Regions from separate parts of the Homo sapiens genome. Here regions 2, 3, 4 and 5 are each linked to region 1. The links are contacts of gene promoters, found by promoter capture Hi-C in human tissues and cell types (Jung and others, 2019). All regions are on one chromosome and are shown on one strand. The core of a region is centred on a gene start or on the middle of the fragment in contact, and the rest is flanking DNA. Distances in the headings are between cores, read along the strand shown.

Region 1 (4,570 bases), core at 1,322-3,821:
GGAGGGGGCCGGGCGCGGTGGCTCACGCCTGTAATCCCAGCACTTTGGGAGGCTGAGGCGGGCGGATCATGAGGTCAGGAGATCGAGACCATCCTGGCTAACACGATGAAACCCCGTCTCTACTAAATATACAAAAAATTAACCGACCGCGGTGGCGGGCGCCTGTAGTCCCAGCTACTCGGGAGGCTGAGGCAGGAGAATGGCGTGAATCCGGGAGGTAGAGCTTGCAGTGAGTTGAGATCGCACCACTGCACTCCAGCCTGGGCAACAGAACGAGACTCTGTCTCCAAAAAAAAAAAAAAGAAATATTTCCAGGAGGGAGTGCTAAACTGTGCTACCAAGAGAGGGAGGGAAGAGGATGAGGGAGGACAGAAGGAGGACTAGGGGAAGTGGTGGGAGGATTGGAGAGGCTTGGGTGGCTGGAGGAAGACGGGAGGACAGAGGGGGGGATGGGAGGAAGAGGGGTGTGGGGAGAGTTGGGGGAGGATGTGGGGGCAGAGGGTGGAGGAAGCAGTGAGAGGATAAGAGGAGGATGGAGGGGATTGAGGGAAACAGCTGGAGGCTGAGGAAAGATGGGGTTGGGGGGTGGTGGGAAGGGTAGTGGATGCTGGGGGAGGCAGCCTTCTATTTCCATAGGACAAATTTGATACTCTTCTAATCCCTTCAGTGGCCTTCTATTTCCCTAGAACAAATTCCCAAATGGTACTTAACACTCAAGGCCCTTCAGAGGCTGACCCCTGCTCCATCTACTGCCCCCTCCCATGCTGCCACCCCAGCCCCAAGGCTGGCAAATATTGACAGTTCCTGGAACTTTGGGCCACCCTCCTTCTCATCTCTATTCTTTTCCAAAGTGTTGTTCCCCGACCTGGACATTCTTCCTAGCCCCATCCAACTGATGTGATGGACAAACTATACTTCAGATACAGCTGGAGGTGCGGGGGGGGGGGGTCCCTTCTTTTGTGAACCTTCCTAGTGGACCCCAAGCAGAGTTGGTAACTCCATCCTCTGTGCTTACCTCCTTACTGCACTGTGCCTAGGACATGGTCAGGACTCAGAAAGGCTGTGCTAAATAACGCACATTTAACCTGTTTCCTTGTCTTCTCCCCTACTCTAAGGTTGGCTTCATCCTTATATCCTACTGATATGGTTTGGCTCTGTGACCCCACCCAAATCTCATCTCGAATTGTATTCCCCATAATCCCCACGTGTCAAGGGAGGGACTTGGTCGGGGGTGATTGGATCACGTCAGCGGTTTCCCCCGTGCTGTTCTCGTGATAGTGAGTGAATTCTCACGAGATCTGTTGGATGTAAAAGGGGCTTTTGACCCTTTTGCTGGGCACCTCTCTTCCTGCAGCCATGTGACGAAGGACGTGTTTGCTTCCCTTTCCGCCATGATTTTAAGTTTCCTGAGGCTTCTCCAGCCATGCAGAACTGTGAGTCAATTAAACCTCTTTTCTTTATAAATTACCCTGTCTCAGGTGGTTCTTTATAGCAGTGTGAAAACGGGCTAATACACCTACCATACTTCTAACCCCCAACGCCTGACCCACCCTGCCCTGTTTACAACAGTGGCTGGCCTTAGCAAGTCATTATCGAAGAAATCACACCATTTAGGACTCCACTGTACACGTTGGGGTGTTCGCTCCTTGTTTCATGAGGGGCACACCAACTTCCGTTTTTGTTTGTTTGTTTGTTTGTTTGGAGATAGGATCTTGCCCTGTTGCCCTGGCTGAAGTGCAGTGGTGTGATCTCAGCTCACTGCAGCCTCGAACTCCTGGGCTCAAGTGATCCTCTCACCTCTGTCTCCTAAGTGGCTGGGACTACAGGTGTGCAACACCACGCCTGGCTAAGTTTTGTATTTTTGTATTTTTTTTTTTTTTTTTTTTTTTTGTAGAGAAGAGGTCTCTCCATGTTGCCCAGGCTGGTTTCAAACTCCTGAGCTCAAGTGATCCTCCGTCTTGGCCTCCCAAAATGCTGGGATTACAGGAGTGAGCCATTGTCCCCACCCCGCACCAACTTCTGATGAAGTCAGGCTCCTTATTGGCTTTTTCCTGAGTTGCCAGGTTGACACATTGGTGGGTGCTTTTCGATGGTTCGCAACCTACGCACGTCGTAATCATCCTTGGACCTTTTCAAAAATCAAGATTGACGCTTGTTGGCAGCAAGGCCTAGGAATGTGGAGGCTGAAGGAGGTGAGGGGAGGTGCTGGGAGACCTGGAAGGAGTGTGAACTACAGGCCCCGCGAAAGGCAGAGGTCTCGCTCCTGGATCCGGAAGAAGGCTGCTGAGCGGGCTTTCATTTCTTATGTATGTGCAGTTTCTTCTGAAGATATAATTGATGTTTATTTCTCTGAATAAGCTTGATTATAATGGAAAATAGGGATAATAAATTAACTGTAATAAGAGTGACATTGACACTGAAAAACCTTGCCTGGGGCGCTTGTCCTGGGTGTCCCCGCCCCGCGGCCCCTCCAGCCCCGCCTGCTCTACGCCCCGCCCCGCCCCTCCCCTCCACGCCCAGGGGGCGTGGCAACCCGGAGTCCCTCCCCTACCCAGGGCACGTGATCTGTCAGTTCGCGGAGAGGGAAGAATATGGCCGCCGGGTGTGGTGAGGGCGACGCGCTTGCAGTCGCCGTCTCTTGCTTCCCCGTCCTCTGACATCGCCTGCAGCCGAGCGGGCCCGTTCCGCCGGAGCTGAGGACCAGGTTGGGAGACCGTCAGTGTGGAGGCCGGTCCGCGAAGCTTTGCCGCGGGATTGGGGAGGAGTCGGGGGCGAGGCCGGGCTCGGGGAGTCGGGCGGGGAGGTGGGACAGCCGAGGAGTGCGCGGAAGGGGCGAGCTCGGACCGGGGGTCCCGGGGAGGGCATGGCGCGGGCCCCGGACGCTCGGGCCCCGGCTTTCGGGGCGAGTCCGCGTTTCCTGGAGCGCCGGGAAGGTCTCCGACCTTGGAGTCTCTGGTGGTCTGTCTCCTGAGGGGCCCCTCGGGTGGGTTGGGGTGAAGGGTGTTGGTAAAACCGTTTTTTTTCTTTTGCCAAGCAGCCTCTGGCACATCCACCACCTTGAGAGCCCCCTTAGCTGGTACCGCTAGTCTTTCTAGGTTCCTCCTCCTAGGCTTCCACGGGCCGGGAGGTGTTGTTTTCTCCCTTGCTTTTATCGTGGGCTCCATTGCTCCATTGTCCTGTGCAGGCTTTTAAACGCCTGGCAAAATAGTGCAAGCCATTGATTTCCACGCCTCCAAGATTTATTTATAGGGAAATAATTTCTTCATCACTTTGTAATGTTGGAATTTTTATTCTTTCAAGTTGACAGGTTTAAACCGATGAAAAATTTTTTTATGAATAACTATGCAGCCATCTCTGCTCCCTATGGGCGCTTGTTAAAAATGTAGATTTCTTAGCGTTTTAGAGATTCCCATTCCTTCGGCCTGAGGTGTGGCTCGGGAATCACCCCTTCAGGTTCGTTCCTGTCCACATTTTGACAACACTGAGGACCAGACATCTACACCTTTTTAAACCACCGTGGGGTATTGAGTGCAGAGCCCAGGTTGGGAAATGCCGTGGCCAGGTGTGTTCTTTGTTCTCTTCTAGCTTTACTAGCATGGACTACTTTCATCAGAATCATTTTGGGGTGCTTGTTAAAATGTCAGTTTCTGGGCACCACCCCAGATCTAGGGAATGGGATTCTCCCGGGGAGGAGCTCAAGGGATATGTGTATTTGACAAGCTTCCCAAATAATTTTGGTGCACACAAGTTTGAGAATCCTTGTTCTACACCCTTTGTGTGAATAATTTCCAGATCATTCACACACAGTGTGAACGGTATCTTTTTCCAAGTATTGGGTGGGTTTCTCCAACCTAGTTCTTTTGGGACACTTCAAATTCAGCCTGGCCAAAGCCCCATTCGCCCAGCTGGGGTGGTGGAAGGGAGGAGGCATAACTTAAGTAGAGAAAAGTCTGCTCTTTCTCCTGCTTTTTTTTTTTTGGTTAAGGGCAGCTCCATTCTTCAGTCACCTATGCTGGGCATCTGGTCATCTTCCACCTGTTTTCTTTTCCAACCAGTCACATAGTTTTATCTTTATATCCAGAATATCTCTTCTGGATATTTTGGTAGTTCAGAAAGTTCAAATGTCAGGGATTTTATATTTTTCAAGTTAATATCCCTCATTTCTTCTCTATTCCCACTGCCTCTCTTGTGTACTGTCTGGTGATTCCTTGACTGGTATCTAGGGCCCTGATTCTTTGTATTTTTCCAGTCTGGGTCACATACACTGCCAGATTAATTTTTATAGGATCATGTATGAATGTGCCATCCCCTTCTTCCTGCTTTTGCTCAAGAACGGTCAGTTTCTCCATTTTATGTGCTACTGTATTTGTCAGGGCTGTTTAGAAGACAGTAGAAACTTAAACCTTTTACTTCAAGGAAAAGGAGATAATAGGATTGAATGAGAGTCAGAAAGAAGTCAGGATCCCAGGTACCTCCATTTTCTACATCTCCCTGGGGCAACTTTTTTTTTTTTTTTTTTTTTTTGAGACAGGGTCTGGCTCTGTTGCCCAGGCTGGAGTGCAGGTGGTGT
Region 2 (4,570 bases), core at 1,187-3,686, 1.7 Mb after region 1:
ATCCAACAAAAGCTGTCAGGTAGACAGATTGAGAAGTCTGGAGTTCAGTGGAGGGAGGCTGAAATATATACTCAAGATTACAGAAGTTATTTAAAGCAACAAGATGGGAAGAACAGCAAAGGAGTAGTGTATCTGTAGAGAGAAGGAAAGGGCCAAGGGAGAGACCTGGGCTGCTCCAGCACTGGGTAATGTCTCCAGGAGGACTGCCCCAGGGGGGACTTTGAAGAGCCCAGGACTTGTGGCTCCCAAACCTGTTTCAAAAAAATTCACTCCACTTTTTGTGGAAAGACACATGGCATAGTTGTTCTACCCACATTGGACCCAGACTGCTTGGGTTCAATTGCATCTTCTACCACTCACAAGCCTTATAGCTTTCAACAGGACAGTTAATATCTTACTGCATTGGTTTTTTTCATCTATAAATTGGGAATAATAAGGCTACCTTCCTAAACTTGTAGATTTATTATGAGGATTATATGAGTTAAATATCTTAGTAAAGGGTCAGACACAAAACGTGCACTGAAAAAATGTTAGATGTTATTATCTATTTTATGGCTTGGGGTTATAAATAATTTCCCATTGGAACAAAGAAGTTGACTACTCTAAAGAACTTTGTAAAAATGACTAGTAAACCTTTATAACCAACGTTTATAAGTAAAAACAAAGTATTAAGTGTGCATAATTATGCATTAACATTGGGAGGTAAACGAGAGCATCTTAATACTAATTATGGCCAAAAAAACACAAAAAGTGTTATAGAACATAAATGTCTCAATTGGAGAATTGTATTGTTTGCCAAAAACAGGGAAAATGTAAATTGTAGACATGTATAGCAGAAGACTGTCCCACTGGCAAAACTGTCAGTCGAGTCTCCTTTAGTATAAACTCTAATAAACATGTAAATGAGCCCAGTTAGAATATGCTGTTTCTGACTACTGAAAGCTTTCATACAGTAGCATCTACAAGCTAGTCACTCCTTTGTTATTTCTTTATTGAAGGAGCAATTTTCCAACGCAAACCTAGACTTGCACAGATGCATTTTCCTGAACTGTAGGATCAGGGAGCAGAGTGGCAAGCTCTGAGAGGCCTGGCAGATCAGGAAATTTACTACAGAGAAACTGCACGCCTTGTTCAAGTTTGCAGGCAGAACTGAGACAGAGCCTAGGTCCCAGGTTCTCACATTTAAACAGCGTGGCATTGCCTCCTCAGCCCAGGTCTGCCTCCCACCTAAAATGTTGGTACTGTTGGTATGAAGCAGGTCTTCTATCAACAAAAGGAGCAACGTGGTGGTGTGAGATCCTGCAGAGCCTGCCAGGGTTTTTATTCTGGTTTAGAGTACGCATATGGAATGTGCTTACTCTAACACTCTGAATAAGACTTCAAATCCAAGCCCTACTTGTTAACAGCGTATCTATCTTGAGACTTGTGCACTAGGCCACTTGGAAAAGCCAAGCTCCTACCCCAAAATATTGGTAAGTTGAATTCCCACCAAGTTGCTGTTTGAAAACTGAGTACCTGTCTGTCTTGAGTAGGCCTTTGCAGGTACTGCTGGGAAGCTCTAAGTCTCTAAATATTTGTGATGGTGAAAAGTTGTAATCAAGGAGATAATTGCTACCTGAGACTGTTTTTCCCTTTCCAGTGATATTAAAAGACATCTGTAAGAAAAATTATGTCTTGTATGTTCCAGCAGTTTGCACTTTTCACCTCTATCAACCTTATAAGGCAGGAAAAATTTTCCCTATTTTATGTATCTGGCCCAAGTTCATATACCGAGTCTAAAATAAGAAATGACACTGAGAATTATCTGAATTCAAAATGTTGGCTCTTTTCAACACATAATATCTACTTCTGAAAATGTGAACTTTCTCATTAGGTTTAATCTGTTAAACTTCTCTATTCTTATGTGACAATACCAAAGCATCTTTAAATTCTTCTGATAAAGTAACATAATGTGTTCATTTTGATGACAGAGCCAGGTGAAAATGTCTAGATGGTTCAACCAAAATTCAGAGAGAAATTTCTGTTGGATTAAGTCTCTAGTGTCAGGTCCACAATGTGCAGACTTTTGCCCCTTTAGATGGAAAAACAATATTTACCAATTTTTGTAATTGAAGAAGTAAATGTTCACCTCTAGAAGAACACTGCCAATTATGTGAATAGCATTAAAAACTCCAAAGCAAAGCTAACAAAAGTAGCACATTTTTATAAAACTGCAGAAGTTTGATTTAATCTGTGAGAATTTCTTCTTCACACAGATTTTTGTCATCTCTCTTAGCTCCAGGGGCCCCTTGATGACAAATTAGCAAGGTGCTACTGTCTTGAAACTAGCAGACATTTTAGCACACTGACATTCAGCATTGTGACCTGCTTCTTGCTAGACTGCTAATTAATATTTGCACTGGCTACAGAATTAGCTTGTTTTTTAGACTATTTCACATTCAAAGACTGCCTCCAAGGGAAGCAGGATTTTATTGAAAAGCCAACTTTAACTTTGTTTTATTAATATTTATAAGAAGAACCACTACAAAGTCTCTACTTTTGCTAGACCATGCAGGCATCTTGCATGTTTTGTACTGTCTCAACTGCACTGCAATTGGGCAAGATAAATAACATTGCCCCGATTTTGTGGTTTAGGAGACTAAGCCTCTAAAGTGTAAATAATTTGCCCAAGAACATGTCGTTGCTGAGGGCTGCAACTGAGATTCAAATCTGCTAACAGAATCCAGAGATGTTACTAAATGGACCAGACCATCATCATCCAGCTAAAGACAATCCACTAGACAGGGGAATAGAAATCAATTCAAACTTCAAGTTATGCACTGCTGCTATGAATGGAGTGTGTGTGCTGTTCCTCTACTCTCAAATTCAAATGCTGAAGCCGAAATTCCTAATGTGTTGGTATTCAGATGTAGGGCCTATGGGAAGTAATTAGGTCATGAGGGTAGAGTCCAGTGAATGGGATTGGTGCACTTATAAGAAGAAATAAGGGAGCTTACTCTCCTCGACCCCCCATCACGTAAAGGTACCATGATAAAACAGCCATCTGCAAACCAGGAAGGGCAACTTCACCAAACACCAGATCTGCCAGTGCCTTGACCTTGGATTTCCAGCCTCCAGAACTGTGAGAAATCAATTGCTGATGTTTAAGTCACCTAGTCAATAGTATTCAGTTATAGCAGCATGAACTAAGACATTGCCTAAGCAGGAGTCCTACATTACTATAGTTTTCCTGCTCCAAAAAAGAAAAATAAGATGTTCTTCGAAACCCAGTGATTTTACTGGGAGTTGTGTTCCTACACCAGTGCTCCCCTGCTATCCCACCAGCATGCAAATATTATCACAAATAGCTTTAAAAAACATAAAACAAAAACCACAGCCATTCTGACTAGTTGGTGCTCAGTGCTGCACCAGCTATTAAATATTTTGAATAGTGCTGAAAAAGAACAGGAAGTGCATCTTCCAGTGTTTCTTTGTGAAGACAAGACAGTTTTCTTGATTCAAGACAATATAGTTGAAGATATATGAACATATATTCCATCCACTCACCTATATCTTTGTTGAAAGAGTTACAAAAGTAAAATCAAAGAGATACATATATTTTTATTGATCCTATAAATTTCTTTGCAAAGTCACCCCAAAGTTAGCAAATTTTCCAACCTATATTAGTTCCTTCTAAAATACTCTGACTACAAAAATAATATAAAAATTCCTATTCTATTTTACAACTTTGGGATACAAATGGAGTGGATTTTTATATAAATCTTCTCCCAGCTCAGGCCTCATTTTCCTTTACATGTCTAATTTCTTCATGGGAAAACAGTAGGCAGAGGATGATTTTACCTAGCTGAAGTTGGGAAGTCAGAAGACCTGAGTGAAGGGTGCCTCCGACCTGTGGTTATACACAGAAAGCCGGGAGGCAAAGTTGGACTGTTGCAAATTTCAAATTTCATAAAGTCAAAGACCATGTCAGTTTTATCCACTAAACTATACTAAGAACCTAGTACAGTGTCTGGCATACAGAGGATCTCAGTAAACATGTGTTTAATGGACGCTAAGAAAATATCAAAGTGAAAACAAACATAAGGACTCCAAATCATGTGGTCAATTACAGAGATCCATGACCAGGAGTAAACAGAACAACAAGCTGATCAATCAGAAAAGCAGTAAGCAAAGAGCTTCAGGAGAGAGCTCGCAATGCGCAGTGATAACAGTGTCGGTGCATACAACACTTTATCTCCTCCAAGTAGGACTAAAAAATTTTGTATTCTCTTCCAAAAGGAGAGTGCTGCCTGGGGCAGGAAGGGGAGGTGGAGAGAGAGAGAAGGAAGGAAGGAAGGAAGGAGAGGGGAGGGGAGGGGAGGAGAGGGGGGAAAGGAGGAAGGGGGGAGGGGGGAGGGAAAGGGGAGGGGAAAGGGGAGGGGAGGAGGGGGGGAAGGGAGAAAGGGGAGGGGGAAGGGGGGAGGAGGGAAAGGGGAGGGGGAAAGGGGAGGGGGGAGGGGGGAGGAGGGAAAGGGGAGGGGGAAAGGGGAGGGGGAAAGGGGAGGGGGGAGGGGGGAGGAGGGAAAGGGGA
Region 3 (4,570 bases), core at 614-3,113, 1.6 Mb after region 1:
CCTCATCCTCCTGGTCCCAGCAGCACATTCTCATATGGGACTGGATAGAAGGAGAATATGGCTCACCCACTCCATCTTAAGGTGCTGCCCCAAAGTCATATGTAATACACATTTATAGCTCATTAGTCACAGCTGAGCATCACGGCTATACTGAGCTTAAAGAAAAGCTGGGAAATGCAGGGTGTAGACAGGCACATAATAAAATTAGTCCTGTTACTAAGAAGTAAGGGAGAGCATGGGTGAGATGGTCTGTCAGTGGTATTAGGCCACAGTCTCTTCTTGTGCCAATAACCTTGTCACGTTTTTTTTGCAAGTCTACCATAAAGACATAATTCTAGAGTCTTAAAATTGACGTCAGTCTCAATTGCAATGCAACAAGATACAAAACAAAGCACAAAAAAAAATGAAAAGAGCACAATAAACAACAGAATGGTGAAGAAAAACCTGACATGCAGAACCATACAAAAATAGGAAATGTTTTCCTTCAAAACTTACACTCACCCACAAACACACCTCCTTCAAATTTAGTAGCATTGAACAAAAACAGAGTTGTGCTTTGCTGGGGCTTCACAGTCAATATGTAGCATGCCTGCCAGCATTCCAAAGAGGAGCAGGGGTTTGATAAATGGCATTGCATGGTCAACTCAAAACCTCATCATCAACTGGGAATTCAAAATACTGCTATGCTGGCAAGAAATCCTTACTGAAGTATGGCCTGGGAGGAAAAGAATGCAGGTCATGCAGGGGTCCAAGTGGTTTTCTTTGCTTCCTGCTACTCCGCTCTGATGCTGCCCTGGCAGCTGGACTGATTGAGTTCTATCATACATTAATGGGAATGGATGACAGAGTGTCACCAACTCGAGTGTCATATGTGCAGTGTGGCTGGGTCCAGAGGTCTGGGAGATGAAGTATGATGTGCCCATCTGTCACCCGAGGCAAAGATGTTCTCCAACCTGAGACTGTGCAAGGCACCTAGGTCTCCACCTGATGTTAGACAGCCTGTTCCTTTATTTAAAAGAAAAATAACTAGGGCTGGGTGCCAGGGCAGAGGCATTGGCTCCCCACCGCCCTCAGCAGGAAAGCTCATTAGCTTAATCTTCAAGCACTCGCAATTGAAAGCAAGGCAACAAGACAGCTCCAGAGAGAACAGCTAAAGCCCTGGCTCACCTCCTTCAGCTCTGAGGGATTCAGGGAAGCAGGGCAGAGGACCACACCCTAGCTCTTTGAGGAGCTTCTCACTCTGGCCTCTATTCAGATTCCTCCCTTAGGACTTAATGCACATGGCTCACCCCATGAGCCCTTCTCTGCTTGCTGGATCACAGACCTCTCTCTCCTCCTCTGAACTCTGAGCAAGGGTTCTGTGCTGGTTGTTATCTGGTTAAAACATCCTGCCTTGCACGGTTTTAACCCACTTATGCTTAGCGTTCCATTATTGGAACGCTAAGCTTGTGGGAGTTATTTATGTCATACTGCTCAAGGTCATCACCAAGGTCTGATTTTTCACACACACAAAAAAAGTGCACCCTCCAGCATAAATGGGTTAACAAGTAGATGTGCATATTCCAGCTGTATTATTTGAACTTAACCATTGTTATAGTTCTTTATAAACCCCACAGAACTAGCATCTATTTGATGGATGATAGATGGTTGCTTCAGAAAGTTGCTTGGGAGGCTGAATGAACCAATATAAATATTCTATACCTGTCTTCTGTAATCCGAGCCCACAGGAAGCCCTCTGAAGCTGCACCTCCAGCATGCCAGATGAACATTTGCTCTCAGCAGCAGATGGGGTCACATGGGCAAGCTTGGATTCAGAGGGGCCATGGCCCCACTGAGGCACCTACCACTGGCTTGAGACCGGCCTAGTGTAGGATTTTATCTGAGATAAAGAACCCTCAACGCTGAATATAAGTTGGTTACTATCATATTCTTGAGATTTCTTTAGCACTGTAGAACCTGCCTCATCAATGATTGACCCTGGATTAATTTAGCCAGTAAAGTTTAAACAGAATCTGATGCTATCCTGATGCTGGAACGACCCGAGAGTTTATCTGAAGATCAGAACGGCCTCCTGCTCAGCTGCTGCATCAGAGCATGTAAACTCAACGCGGGGTCTTCTGGCCTATATTCTTGGTAAGAACTCTGGCCACTTTTTTTTTTTTTTTTTTTTGCATGACTCTCAGTAGACTTAGCTCTCATTATCTGCATAAGAAGATTCCATAGCAAGTCTTTAGGGCTAAATTTGGGGAGAAATTAGGGGAAGGGGTAGCTGCCATCATAGTGTACTGAAAAATGTTGGCATGAAAAATTTAGTAGCCTTGGAAGATTCAGTGGAATGCTTCTTTGCTGTGGGTGTATACAGCTTGTTAGCCCAAGTTCTGTCTGAACCCAGATGGCCAGGTTGAAATGAAACATGAGATTGGCAAGAGCTCTTCTTCCGTTTGGTGCAACTGTATTGCTATGTATACAGGGAGATTTATGGCTTCCTCTGATGGGCCAACATGTTTACACCTTTCCAAAAGAAGATTCTTTAGAGACAGCCAACAGAGAGTGCTTTAATGATGGCACACACGACAGTGGGCTTCTGAAACCTCCACTGCCCCGGCCCCTGAGGCCTGTCAGCTCTGCAGTTGGCTGGTGTGGCTCTGCTCCCACAGACGGGATTGGGCAGAGAGGCGGTGGGAGTGGGAGGAAGCACGGAGATCTGCTACCTGGAGCTTCCCCAGCTGTCAGCAGATGAAGTGGCCTGATGCAGCGTAGGGCCATGGGGACTGGTTGGAACCATGCAGTGGCCAGGCTCGAATTGCAAAGCTGAAGTTTCTCTGCTGTCTTCTTCTTTTTATTTCATCCTTAACAGTGGGGCCAGTTTTCTGTGTCTAAATACACACATGCTAACTGGGGAGCAGGGACAGGGGGAAGAGAGGACTTTGCATATTCAAAATAATGACAATAAAATGCACCGCAATGTATTTAACCAAAGGAAATCATTGAGATGCTCAAAGACCGTCATATGGTGGAGGGAGAATTCTGTTTTTCCCTAGAAGTCAGTAAACGCACTGATTTGGAGAGAGGATAAAGATTTCTTCATAAAATAAAAAACAGACTCTCCAAAAGGGAAGTTTTACTGGATGAAATCAACAGCACTGTGAGGCGGTGAGTTCCGTGACTGCCTGGCAAGCCTTCTAAGGAGGCCAAGTTATCCTTTCCACGGGCCCTGCAGCCAGGACTCTTGCACTAAGTAGAACATTGAGGTCAAAATGCAATGCAGGCTCAATGACTCCACAGGCGTCTGCGAGTAGAAAGTGAGTGAGACACAGGCCTCATCAACATGGAGCCTGGTGCCTTGCTATAGCACTTGGAGCACAGCCCGTGAGTTCAGCATTGTGGTTACCAGTGCAGACTCAGTAATGCAGCAGGAACCGCCCGCGTTTGTAGAGTACATCCCCTGTGCCACTCACATCATCCCCTGTGCCACTCACATCCCCTGTGCCACTCAGCACTTAGGATGCACTGCGTCATAGGCTCCTGACACTGTGGCTCATACTTAACATCTATTAAGGTTACAGAATAGCAGGCAGAGGACCTGGGATTTGATTCAGGTTGTATGACCCCAAAACACGCTCTAATCACTTTCCTAGACAGCCCATTAGAAGCATCCTTTAACCACAGACTGAACGATCTTTTCCAAGGTCCTATGTTCTGTAACTTACCCGGCAGAGAAGCAGCCAGAAGCTGCCTTCTTACATGAGACTAAGTGCAGCTATTTAATGAAGATGACTTGGGCGTCTAGCGTAGGTTAGCAGGTACCTAGTCTATGAAGACACGGAAGATAGTGGTTTCTCTCACGGGAGCTCAGACGGCAGAAACTACAAATGGCCCCGTTACAGGCCGGGCATGGACCAGGGGTCATTTGTAGTCTGATTCAATCTTCATATCGCACCCACTGTGTAGCTCTTACCATCCATTTTGATGTAAAGATGCTGAGTCTCCAAACATTGAACTAAATGTTGTAGGATTATGACTAAAGAATGGAGCAGAGATTTGCATCTAGGCTCTAGCTAGGACCCGTGTTTCAGCTCGCAGCTCACCTCACAAGCACGTGTATGTCAAGAGCAAAAGAAGATTCCATTGCAGAAGGATTTGGGGAAATTCGAAAAGTCCTGAGTGTAGAAACACCCCTCATTATTTTACAGCAGACCTGGTGCTGATGGGTGAACATGTCACTTGTGAGCTATAACCCAGGGTCATCACCGCTGTCCGTGAGGCTGACTTTGCAGCAGCTGGATGGAGCCAGAAGCAATGAAGTTTCCTGCTTGTCCCCAGCTGACAACGGGGGCACCAGCCTTTTAGTCTCCCCTTCCCAGAGAAGCAGTCTTGGCCAGTGCCTTGGAAACAGGAAGCTCCCCACTCCATGACTGCCCATAGAGCCTGCACAGATGGAGGAGTTTCCTCATCCTTCTGAATGATCTCACAGCCAATTGGCTTGACTCTGCCTAAAAAGCCAAACGTGTATTTTCTGGGAATCACTATAATGTGTTCTCTGCTGAGTATCGCCGGGGAACTATGATAA
Region 4 (4,570 bases), core at 743-3,242, 1.6 Mb after region 1:
ACATGAGGCAGTTTATCTTCTAAAGAAGCTGATCTCTGGAGATGGGTTATGCTTGCCAACTCTGAGGATTAGAGACAACAGGAGCTTGTTCACAGTGAGCTGGACCTCAGATGTCCTCAGCATTCCTTTTAAATTATAAAACTCCCTGCTCAGAATTATGAAATGTATTTATATTTATATTTAACCTTAATTTCACCAAATGCTCAAACTGTGCTCAAATAAGACAAACGCCAAACTGTAACCAATCCAGTTGTTTCTGTACCTCACTTCCATTTTCTTTACGTTACTCGCCTTTCACTGTCCACAGATTTTCTTTCACCACAGGACTCCACTGGAGTCTCTCTAAATCTACTGTGATTCTGGGGGCTGCCCAATTCACAAATCATTCATTGCTCATTTAAACTCCTTTAAATTTAATTAAACTGAAGTTTTTCTTTTAACACTTTTCTTTTTTTAAAATCACCTTAATTCTGATTTAATTTCAATAAAACTACAAAACTGCTATTTAACACACTTTGTCTAGCAATTGACTAAAATGCTGTGATTATATATAATTATTTTAATATAATAATGTTAAAATTATATATAAATATATATTAAAATATTACGTAATTATCTTTGCATATGTATTCAGATGCTGTGATTATATAATTTTATTTATGTGTGTGTGTATATATATATATATATATATATATAAAATTGTCTTCTTTTTTTTTAACTTTGCTCTTAACCCCTCATTTGCCTTGTGCCCAACTTCTGAAGGCATCTCTAGAGACCCTTTCAACCATTGCAGTTCCTCCTCGGCCTACAGAAGCCAGTGGAGGAAAAGATGCTTCTCTTCTGGGTACCACACTAACTGACATGAGGCAGCTTACCTTCTAAGGGAGCTGATCGCTGGAGATGGGTTATGCTAGCCGACTGAGGATTAGAGACAACAGGGTCTTGTTCACAGTGAGCTGGACCTCAGAGTTTTACCATTTGGCATAGAAATTTAACTCTGATCCCATAAAGTACCCTGCTTAGAAAATGGACTGCATCCACTTTAATTATCCAAAGCTTCCCGGCTGCCAGAGCCAGGTGCATAGTCAGGCCCTCGCGCGCTCGTGAACCCCTCAGGATGCAGTTACAGGCACAGTAACTAGAGAAGCACACCCAAATCAAATTTAAATTGTAATTAATTGTTGGATATTCATTTTTAAAACTAGCTTCAAAATCCAAGTTTATACATTTTTTTTTCTTAGATAGATCTACTTTTTCTTTAAAAACTTTACTCTTTAGGTTGGCCTGAATCCGGCCAGTGATCTCATGATTCTAACATTCATGTGAATATTCTGATATGCTTTGAGGACCCTTCTTTTCTTTCTTACAGGTATTGACAAATTAGCACTGCCTGTCTCAGGTAGGGGACACCATTGCTTCTTTAGGAGAAAGCAATATGTGTAGTGGTGAGAACGCAGGTATTGGAGACAGAATTGGCTTCTAATTCTTGTTCTTCTACTTACTAGTTTTATGGTATCAGTCAAATTAAGTATTCTCTTCAAGCCTCAGTTTCCTCATCTGTAAATTGGGGATAATTATAAAAATGGCAGCTATTGTATTTTCATATTATTCTATTTTGCTTTGTCTATTTACTTTTATATTATTTCATAATCCTACATCACTTATAACTTAAAGAATACATCTTCCTGAGGCCAGGCATGGTAACTCATGCCTGTAATCCCAGCATTTTTGGAGGCCGAGACAGGCAGACTGCATGAGCTCAGGAGTTCAAGACAAGCCTGAGCAACAGGGTGGAACCCCATCTCTGCAAAAAATTAGCCAGGTGTGGTGGCATGCACCCGTAGTCTCAGCTACTTGGGAGGCTGAGGATCACCTGAGGCTGGGGAGGTCAAGGCTGCAGTGAGCTGTGATTGCACTACTGCACTGCAGCCTCAGTAACAGAGTGAGACCCTATCAAGAAAAAAAAAAAAAAAAGAATGTCTTCCTTTCCTATAATGCGAATTACTACTAAAAATGTCAACATTGCATTTCTGATTTCCACTCCATGAGTTAAACTCTCCAATTACATCATCACTAAATATTTAGGTGGTTTAATCCATATTTTCCCTATTCATTGAAGAATATAGAAAGTGAAAGCAATTTATAACTTCCCTTTAATACACCTGGATATTAGTTATTGGTTCAATTTGGACTGTGCAGTTTCATAAAGCAAACGGATTTTTCCCCACAAAACTATGAATTTATGAAAGCTGGAAATAAATTATATCCTTTGATACATGTTTTATAGAGACATGAAAAGTGAGGATTAAAATCATTTGTTTTATTTTTTCTTTTTTCAGGATTCACCAATAGGTGTACATTAATATTTTCCTTGCCTTGGAGAATTCAACTCAATTCCAAGTGTTCTAAAAGAGACAAAACAATTTAACACCAAAAGATGTAATCCAATTTCTTGCATACCCCCCTTCCCTGGAAGCTTCATTATAAAGCTTGTCTCAGGCCTTATAGATGACTTTTAAAACCTACTTTAAAAGATTCGGAGTTTAATATGAAATGGTAAAATGTGATAGTGAGGGCTTCTTAATGTGATAGTAAGGGCTTCCTAATGTCCCCAGTAAGAAACATCATTGAATAGAGGACCAAACATGCCATCTTTGTCAGGAGTGGGCACGATCAGAGGCTCCTGAGGAGAGGGCAGCGGGATCCACCTTGTACTGAAAAATCACAGTGGGTCTGAATGTTCGTGTTCCTACAAAACTCATAGGTTGACATCCTGACCCTCAAGGTGACGGTATTAGAAGATGAGATCTTTAGGGAGTGATTAGATCATGGGGATGACAACCTCATGAATAGAATTAGTGTTTTCATAAAAGATGCCCAGGACAGACCATTACCTCCTCCACCGTGTGAGGATACAGCCAGAAGCAGCCACTCATGAATCAGGAAGCGGTCCCTCACCAGACACCAAATCTGCCGGCACCTAGATCTTGGAATTCTAGCCTCCAGAATTGTGAGAAATAAATTTCTGTAGTTTATAAGCCACCCAGTATTTTTGCTGTAGCAGCTGGAATATACTAAGACCGTATCTCTTTTTGTGTCCTTCACTGTCATTGATCAGGAATTTTTAAATTTCAGAAGGAATTCTTATTTTTCAAAGATTAATGAACACACTCATTTTATGTTGACTTCATTGATAAAATCTAGAATAGAATAAAGAAAGAATTCCAAATTCTCATACAGATTTCCTTTAGGACACTCTTCTTAGATACTTAGAAAGGAAACAAAGAAGAAAACTCCTAAAACAATAATGCCAAATTTGAAGAAAAAGCTAAACTTGAAACTTTGTGATTTTAGGCACATTAGTTTCTTTTTAGCTGTATTTTCCATCACCTAACCCATTCAAAATCCTTTTCCTGACATAGTATAACTGAAAGCAGGTAAAGAGGTAAAGGGAAGAATAAGTTTCCTTTGCTCTCTCTGGATGTTGCCTGGGCACTGACATTTGCAATTCAGTATGCTTCTCAGTCCCCAACCGGTCCTGGAAGTCCAGATCATCGTGGAAGCCAAGAACACCTTCTGCCCTCTGATTTTGGCACAGCGGTGGCCACTTCACTCAGATGTGTGCCTCCCGGCAGTTATTCCCGCCGCAGGGCCTGCGGACTGGCATGCTGCAATATGCTCTACCTGGGGCTGCACCTGAGACCATATGGACCTTCAGCTGCTGCACCATACAGGGACCTGCCTGGAGAAAGCCGAGGACCAGATGGAGCAGACGATACCTGTGTGAGACCGTCTGACTCGACGCTGCTGGGGACTTGGTGTGCGGAAAATGGCAGACTATAAACATTTAAATAATAATACCACAACACATGCTGATTCTTTTCCAGCAGAAAGGTAAAGAAATTGAAAAAAATAAAAAAAACCTTTTTGGGAAAGGCAAACCTACTATAGAATAGGAATGAACTTTAAAAAAAATAAAATAAAGCTAAGAGTCAAAGAGTTAAAACCAAACATGGGTATAGGAAATAGTTCTAAAGGCAAGCATGGAGACTTAGAAAGCATTGGATGGGAGCCAGGATCCACAGATTTCAGTGTACTAAGTTACAATGTGACTTTACACAAGACACTTTCCTCTCACTGTGCCTCAGTCTCCCCACTGATAATATAAAGGGAGCGGCTGATACCGTTCAAGATGCCAAGATAAGGAGTTTGTGCCTGGACATGAACCAATGCATTGAGAATCATCATGAAAGACCAATTACAAAAAACACTTCGGCAAACTAAGGAGTGTGCTTAGGAACGTGGCTGATTTGCATTCTGATTCAAACTCCTTATCTCATAGCAGATAGAAAAGAAATTTCTCAGAGCCTGAAAAATGTTTAGGGACCAGTATCAGACATTGAGTACTTTGAGTAGCACTGGATTAGGTTACCTCTTTAAACTTTCAGCATTCTTGAATTGTTAAGAACTAAGTGAAGAATTCAGAACTAAGCAAAGTACCATGTTACCTTATGTTACTTTTTACTTGCCTTCAAATATAAAACAAATATGCACAAAAAAGTAAGATGTG
Region 5 (4,570 bases), core at 846-3,345, 1.4 Mb after region 1:
TTTATAGCAGGTTCATTTATAATTAACAAAACTTGGAGGCAACCAAGGTGTCCTTCAGTAGGTAAATGCACAAACTGGTAATCTAGACAATAGAATACTATTTAATACAAAAAAAAAAAACTTTAAGCCATGTAAAGACATGGGGGAAACATAAATGCACATTACTAAGTAAAAGAAGCCAATCTGAAAAGGTTACATAAGATATGATTCTAGGTAAATGGCATTCTGGAAAAGGCAAAACTGTGGAGACAGAAAAAAATGTAATTGTTCCCAGGGGCTGGGGAGAGGGAATGATGAATGGTGGATCACAGGGGATTTTTTGGGGAAGTGAAACTGTTCTGTATGATACTATAATGGTGAATACAGGCCATTACAGATTTATCCAAAGCCATGGCATGTATGAATTTGGGGTGCTAATGATGTGTCAATATAGGTTCATCAATTGTAACAAATTTCCCACTCTGGTAAAAGATGTTGATAGTGGGAGGTTATGTATATGTGAGGGCAGGGAAAATATGGCAAATACCTGCACCTTCTGTTCAATTTTACTAGAAACCCAAAACATAATTAAAATATTTATTTAAAAAAGGGGGTCAGAGTTGCAAGACACTGCTGGCAACTGCAATTGCACACATGTGAAATAATAATGAATACTTGACAATAGAGGCCTTAAAACTCCACAGCGAAACTGAGATCAGGGCTGGAGAGTGTGGTTACATATAGGAGTCATATCTCAAATAGAACCTAGAGAATTAGGCATGGAGTATAGGAAGTGCAAGGTAGAAATGAGGGTAGTTCCTGAGACTCTAGTACTCTTTCTTGGAAGCCTGAGATTTTAAACCTACATTAACTTACATGGCAATAGAAACAAACGTAGGAGTAGGATTGGCTCAGTTGGTGAAAGCAATGTCATCTCAAAGTACTACAATGCTCTCCATTGCACTGGTGAGAATATTAGCAACTTTGAGTGCATTAACTTAAATAGTTCTCAAAAGAATGTGGTATATTAAGCACTAGCATACTCATTTATTAGAGGAAATATGGTTAGAGTGGTTAAATAACTCCCAAAACCACTCTGTCCTCTTCCTCGAGACTCTAGGCTTGAAGTCATCCTTTGAGGTTCATGTTTTCATTTGTTGACTTGGGTATTTTTGGGAGAGAACAAGTGTTTCTTTCTTGTTCTAAAGTCTAGGAAAATGGATTCTGCCAACTGAGGGAATCAAGGGTCAACTGGAGTACTGAAATTAAATGTGTAATTCATTACTTGCTAGTCCAGAACAGGGTTGAAGGTAGAGCTTGTTCACTAACACCTGGGTCTACAATGAATGTTCCTGCCGGCTGCAATTCTCTCTGGGAGAATATTGAGTAATAGATCAATCCAATAATCTCTATGAGTGTGACACCAAATCTGAAGCAAAATGGGCACAAATCTGGAAAGGAATTAAGATGCAGAAAGAGGAAAGAGAGCAGAGATCCAGGTGTGAGAATACCTGAATGTGCTGGAAGCAGGAATTGAGCAAGTCACTTGCATCTCTAAGCTTCTGCTTTATCAGCTACAATACAAGGAGGACACCTTCTTTGCCCAACTGCTACATGATCCATGTGGAACACCTCATGTGTGTAAAGCAATGGTGCATCCAGGGGCCCCTGCTGCTAGACTATGACTCTGGACTCAGGATTTTGCCTCTGCCTTTTCCTGGCCAACCTTTCTTAGCTCCTCACTGTAAATTAAGGTAAGACATTTCAGAAAGTCTTCCATGACTCTAACACTTTAAAGCTCTCATTGTCTAGGCAGTGAATGAGGTAAGGCGTTGCATTGTTAAATGCCAAATACCAACTGTGTAGGAGAAAAAAAAACTGCCACCTTATTTAGGATAGCAATTATTATGAGGAGTAAGTTGCACTTTGAAACAGAAATGATTTTATGTTGATCCTTTCCCTATGAGCATCAGGGGCTGAGCTAGGAAGGAGTCCTCAGCCAGGTTTTCAGGCTGTTGAGAGCACATTTTTCCCCTGCAGCAGAAATGTGGCAAAAAGAGAAGAACAAAAGCAATATAGGACCTCAGTTTTCATAATTAAAAACAGATCCCCAAACACTGATGCTGAGCATGAATTCTGAGCAAATGAAGTAAGTATTAAAACAGTAATGCTCATGATATCTGCTTAGTGGCCACCAAATGTACAACTACTCTTTCGCAGTTACCATCTCAGAGATACAGTATACATTGGGACTAAGTGTTCTCATGACTACCTTTAGGCTAAGCAGTTTCACCAGGAATTATGGAATGAAAAATATCAGCCTATCTCTAGCTCTTCTCTACTCAAGAATCTTGGTGTGTTTTTTTTGGTTTTTTTCTTTTTTAATTTTGCCTGCTATTCTGCAGTGAGAGAGACTTTCAGAAATATTCAATACTTTCTATCCTGGTACTAGGAAAATGAGGATATAGAAATTTCATTCGAATGAACTTTCCAGGGATTTATAGCCTCTGGAGTTACTATAGTAAGTGTGTATCTTCTGATGAGTAATCCACAGGAAAATCACTGGGCTGAAGAGTTCAGTGCTTGAATATTGTGTCTGAAATTACAACAAAATTTAAAGAACTCTTTGAAAAATCTTGTAGAGGATTTATCAATAGTAATGCAAATTCAACTTTTGATAAAAGACAGAGCTCTCAACAAACATGATAAAAATGAGCCAAAGGTACCCAAGCCAGCTGACATTTGTTTATGATGGAAGGATTAAGTTTAATTCACTTTTGTTCTTAAATGTTCACATTTACAACAACCAAAATAACATGTATTTAACTAATGTATAATTTGAAAAAGCTTTCATATAGTATGTTAAATGTAAATGTCTATTACCTCATTTGATATAACACATGTACTTTAAGAAGTTCTTGTAAACTAATATTTAGTGAATTAATCAGTGGTTTACTTCTTCATTCTGGGGCCAGTGTGGGTCTTCAATTGAGTGTTAGGTGATAAGGAAATGCATGCTGCACACAGAGCTCAAGGATCTCATTATCACACACTTCGTATTGCTAGATGTGTTGCTTTGGGAAGGCCGTGACCTTCTCTCTGGGACTCAGTTTCCTTGCCTTATGGAACAAAGGAGCCAGTGCAGGCTGACATTTAGGCCCTCGGGAGCTTCCTCAGGATGAAATGACCCATTGGGTCTCCCATGTGGTGAGCCTCGGTTAGCAGAAGCCAGGGCTTGCTACCCAGGGCATTAACTACACATAGTGGTCTCCATCAGTGGAAGAGTGAGCGCAAAGGCCTTCATCCTCCAAGATGGCCTGCATACACATGGATGTCCCCAAGTTCAGTGGCACCACCGTTAGTCTAGTGCTGTGCCCTTGAGCCGGGCAGGCCCTTCAGCTTCCCAAGCCTTCATTTCCCATCTGCCCAGTGGAGATAAGAACACCTGCCAGGGCTGTGCATCCTGTGAAATACGTGAGATGATGTGTGTCAATCCAGGGCACAGGACTTGGCCCCTAGCACCAGCTTGGAAAATGAAAATTCTTCCATTCAGGGTCCCAGGGGGTAGAAAGTAAGAAAATATAACAATAAAGGAGGGAGGGGGAAGGAAAGATAGATTGCCATTCTTTAAATAAAATCAGGGAGCGAGGTGTGAGAAAAATAGAGAAAGGCAGAGAGTATGAGAGAGAGGAATAGCTACAGGCACTTGGAATAGTGCTGCAAGATTCTCATAAGTAAAAGCTTCTCTTAAAATATTGGAGTTCCTCCATATGGGAAGCTTGGGGAGAGAAGAGAAAAAATTAAATTAAAGCATTTGAAAGTATATTATAGTTTTATCTCTTTGGCTCTGCGATTTCAGAAATAATATAATCCTATGGAAAACATGCTGCCAGAGGATTTTGTATAGTGGCGCCCCGACAGGATGGGACTGAATGATGTCAAAAAAGCTTATATAACAGTTTTGTTTTATTCATTTACATAAATCACATTTACCGTAGGTGTTTTATTCAAAATAAAGTTTGGGAAAAATAAATTGAACAGATGAACCTAGGCAAACCTGGTGATTTTTTCATGAGTAGTGTTTGATGATAAAGGCATAAAAGCATAATGTGGTATCATTTCACCAAGGCACAATATGGATCACCCATATGGAGCAGAAGTTGATAATACTGCAAAGAAGCAAAAATAAACAGAACAGATGTACTTGTAAAATCAAGTCTGCACCCACCCCTGAGTACCTGCCTTGTACTGGAGAAGTTTCTACTAAAACTCCAAACTGGCTTCAAGTCCCCTTCCCACAGAGACGCTTGGGAAGCCAGAGATGAAATCTCATATGACCAAACAGAAATGAGAAAAGGTTTTCTAAAGCAGCAAGCTCCCAAGAAAGACTGAACCAGAGCCTGCTGGATCCCCCAAAGAAAGCCGACCACTGACAATGCCTCAGTTGTCAGGATCAGAAGGCATGGGTTCCAATCCCGACTCCTCCTAGCTGAGTCTTGGAGAAATCTTCAAATTTCTAAGCATTGGTTCATCAAAGGTGAAGTCTCAGAGGTGTTACCTACTTCACAGGGATATTGTCAAGCTTAAATGA

What was found. The method cuts DNA at HindIII sites, captures the fragments that hold promoters and counts their contacts. A contact is called where the count stands out against the background at its distance.
Region 2: a fragment that was not itself captured here is called in contact with the fragment with the promoter of KIDINS220 in region 1 in 1 of the 25 tissues and cell types used here (dorsolateral prefrontal cortex).
Region 3: a contact is called between a fragment that was not itself captured here and the fragment with the promoter of KIDINS220 in region 1, in 1 of the 25 tissues and cell types used here (dorsolateral prefrontal cortex).
Region 4: a contact is called between a fragment that was not itself captured here and the fragment with the promoter of KIDINS220 in region 1, in 1 of the 25 tissues and cell types used here (lymphoblastoid cells).
Region 5: a fragment that was not itself captured here is called in contact with the fragment with the promoter of KIDINS220 in region 1 in 1 of the 25 tissues and cell types used here (dorsolateral prefrontal cortex).

Annotation. Positions count from the first base shown.
Region 1 is chr2:8,835,614-8,840,183 of GRCh38, reverse strand. KIDINS220 (kinase D interacting substrate 220) reads left to right here and starts at 2,571. Exons shown (of 30, transcript NM_020738.4): 1 at 2,571-2,704. RefSeq lists silencers at 2,395-2,444, 2,455-2,514. The HindIII fragment of the contact is 2,236 bases long and covers 996-3,231 here.
Region 2 is chr2:7,128,192-7,132,761 of GRCh38, reverse strand. The region is part of intron 1 of LOC124908053 (a long non-coding RNA gene); the gene reads right to left. Among named protein-coding and RNA genes, the nearest start is that of GRASLND, 210 kb to the right of the region's middle. The HindIII fragment of the contact is 9,186 bases long and covers 1-4,570 here.
Region 3 is chr2:7,206,471-7,211,040 of GRCh38, reverse strand. No RefSeq gene overlaps it. Among named protein-coding and RNA genes, the nearest start is that of GRASLND, 290 kb to the right of the region's middle. The HindIII fragment of the contact is 3,264 bases long and covers 232-3,495 here.
Region 4 is chr2:7,236,727-7,241,296 of GRCh38, reverse strand. No RefSeq gene overlaps it. Among named protein-coding and RNA genes, the nearest start is that of GRASLND, 320 kb to the right of the region's middle. The HindIII fragment of the contact is 3,186 bases long and covers 400-3,585 here.
Region 5 is chr2:7,407,653-7,412,222 of GRCh38, reverse strand. No RefSeq gene overlaps it. Among named protein-coding and RNA genes, the nearest start is that of LINC01871, 320 kb to the left of the region's middle. The HindIII fragment of the contact is 4,298 bases long and covers 1-4,244 here.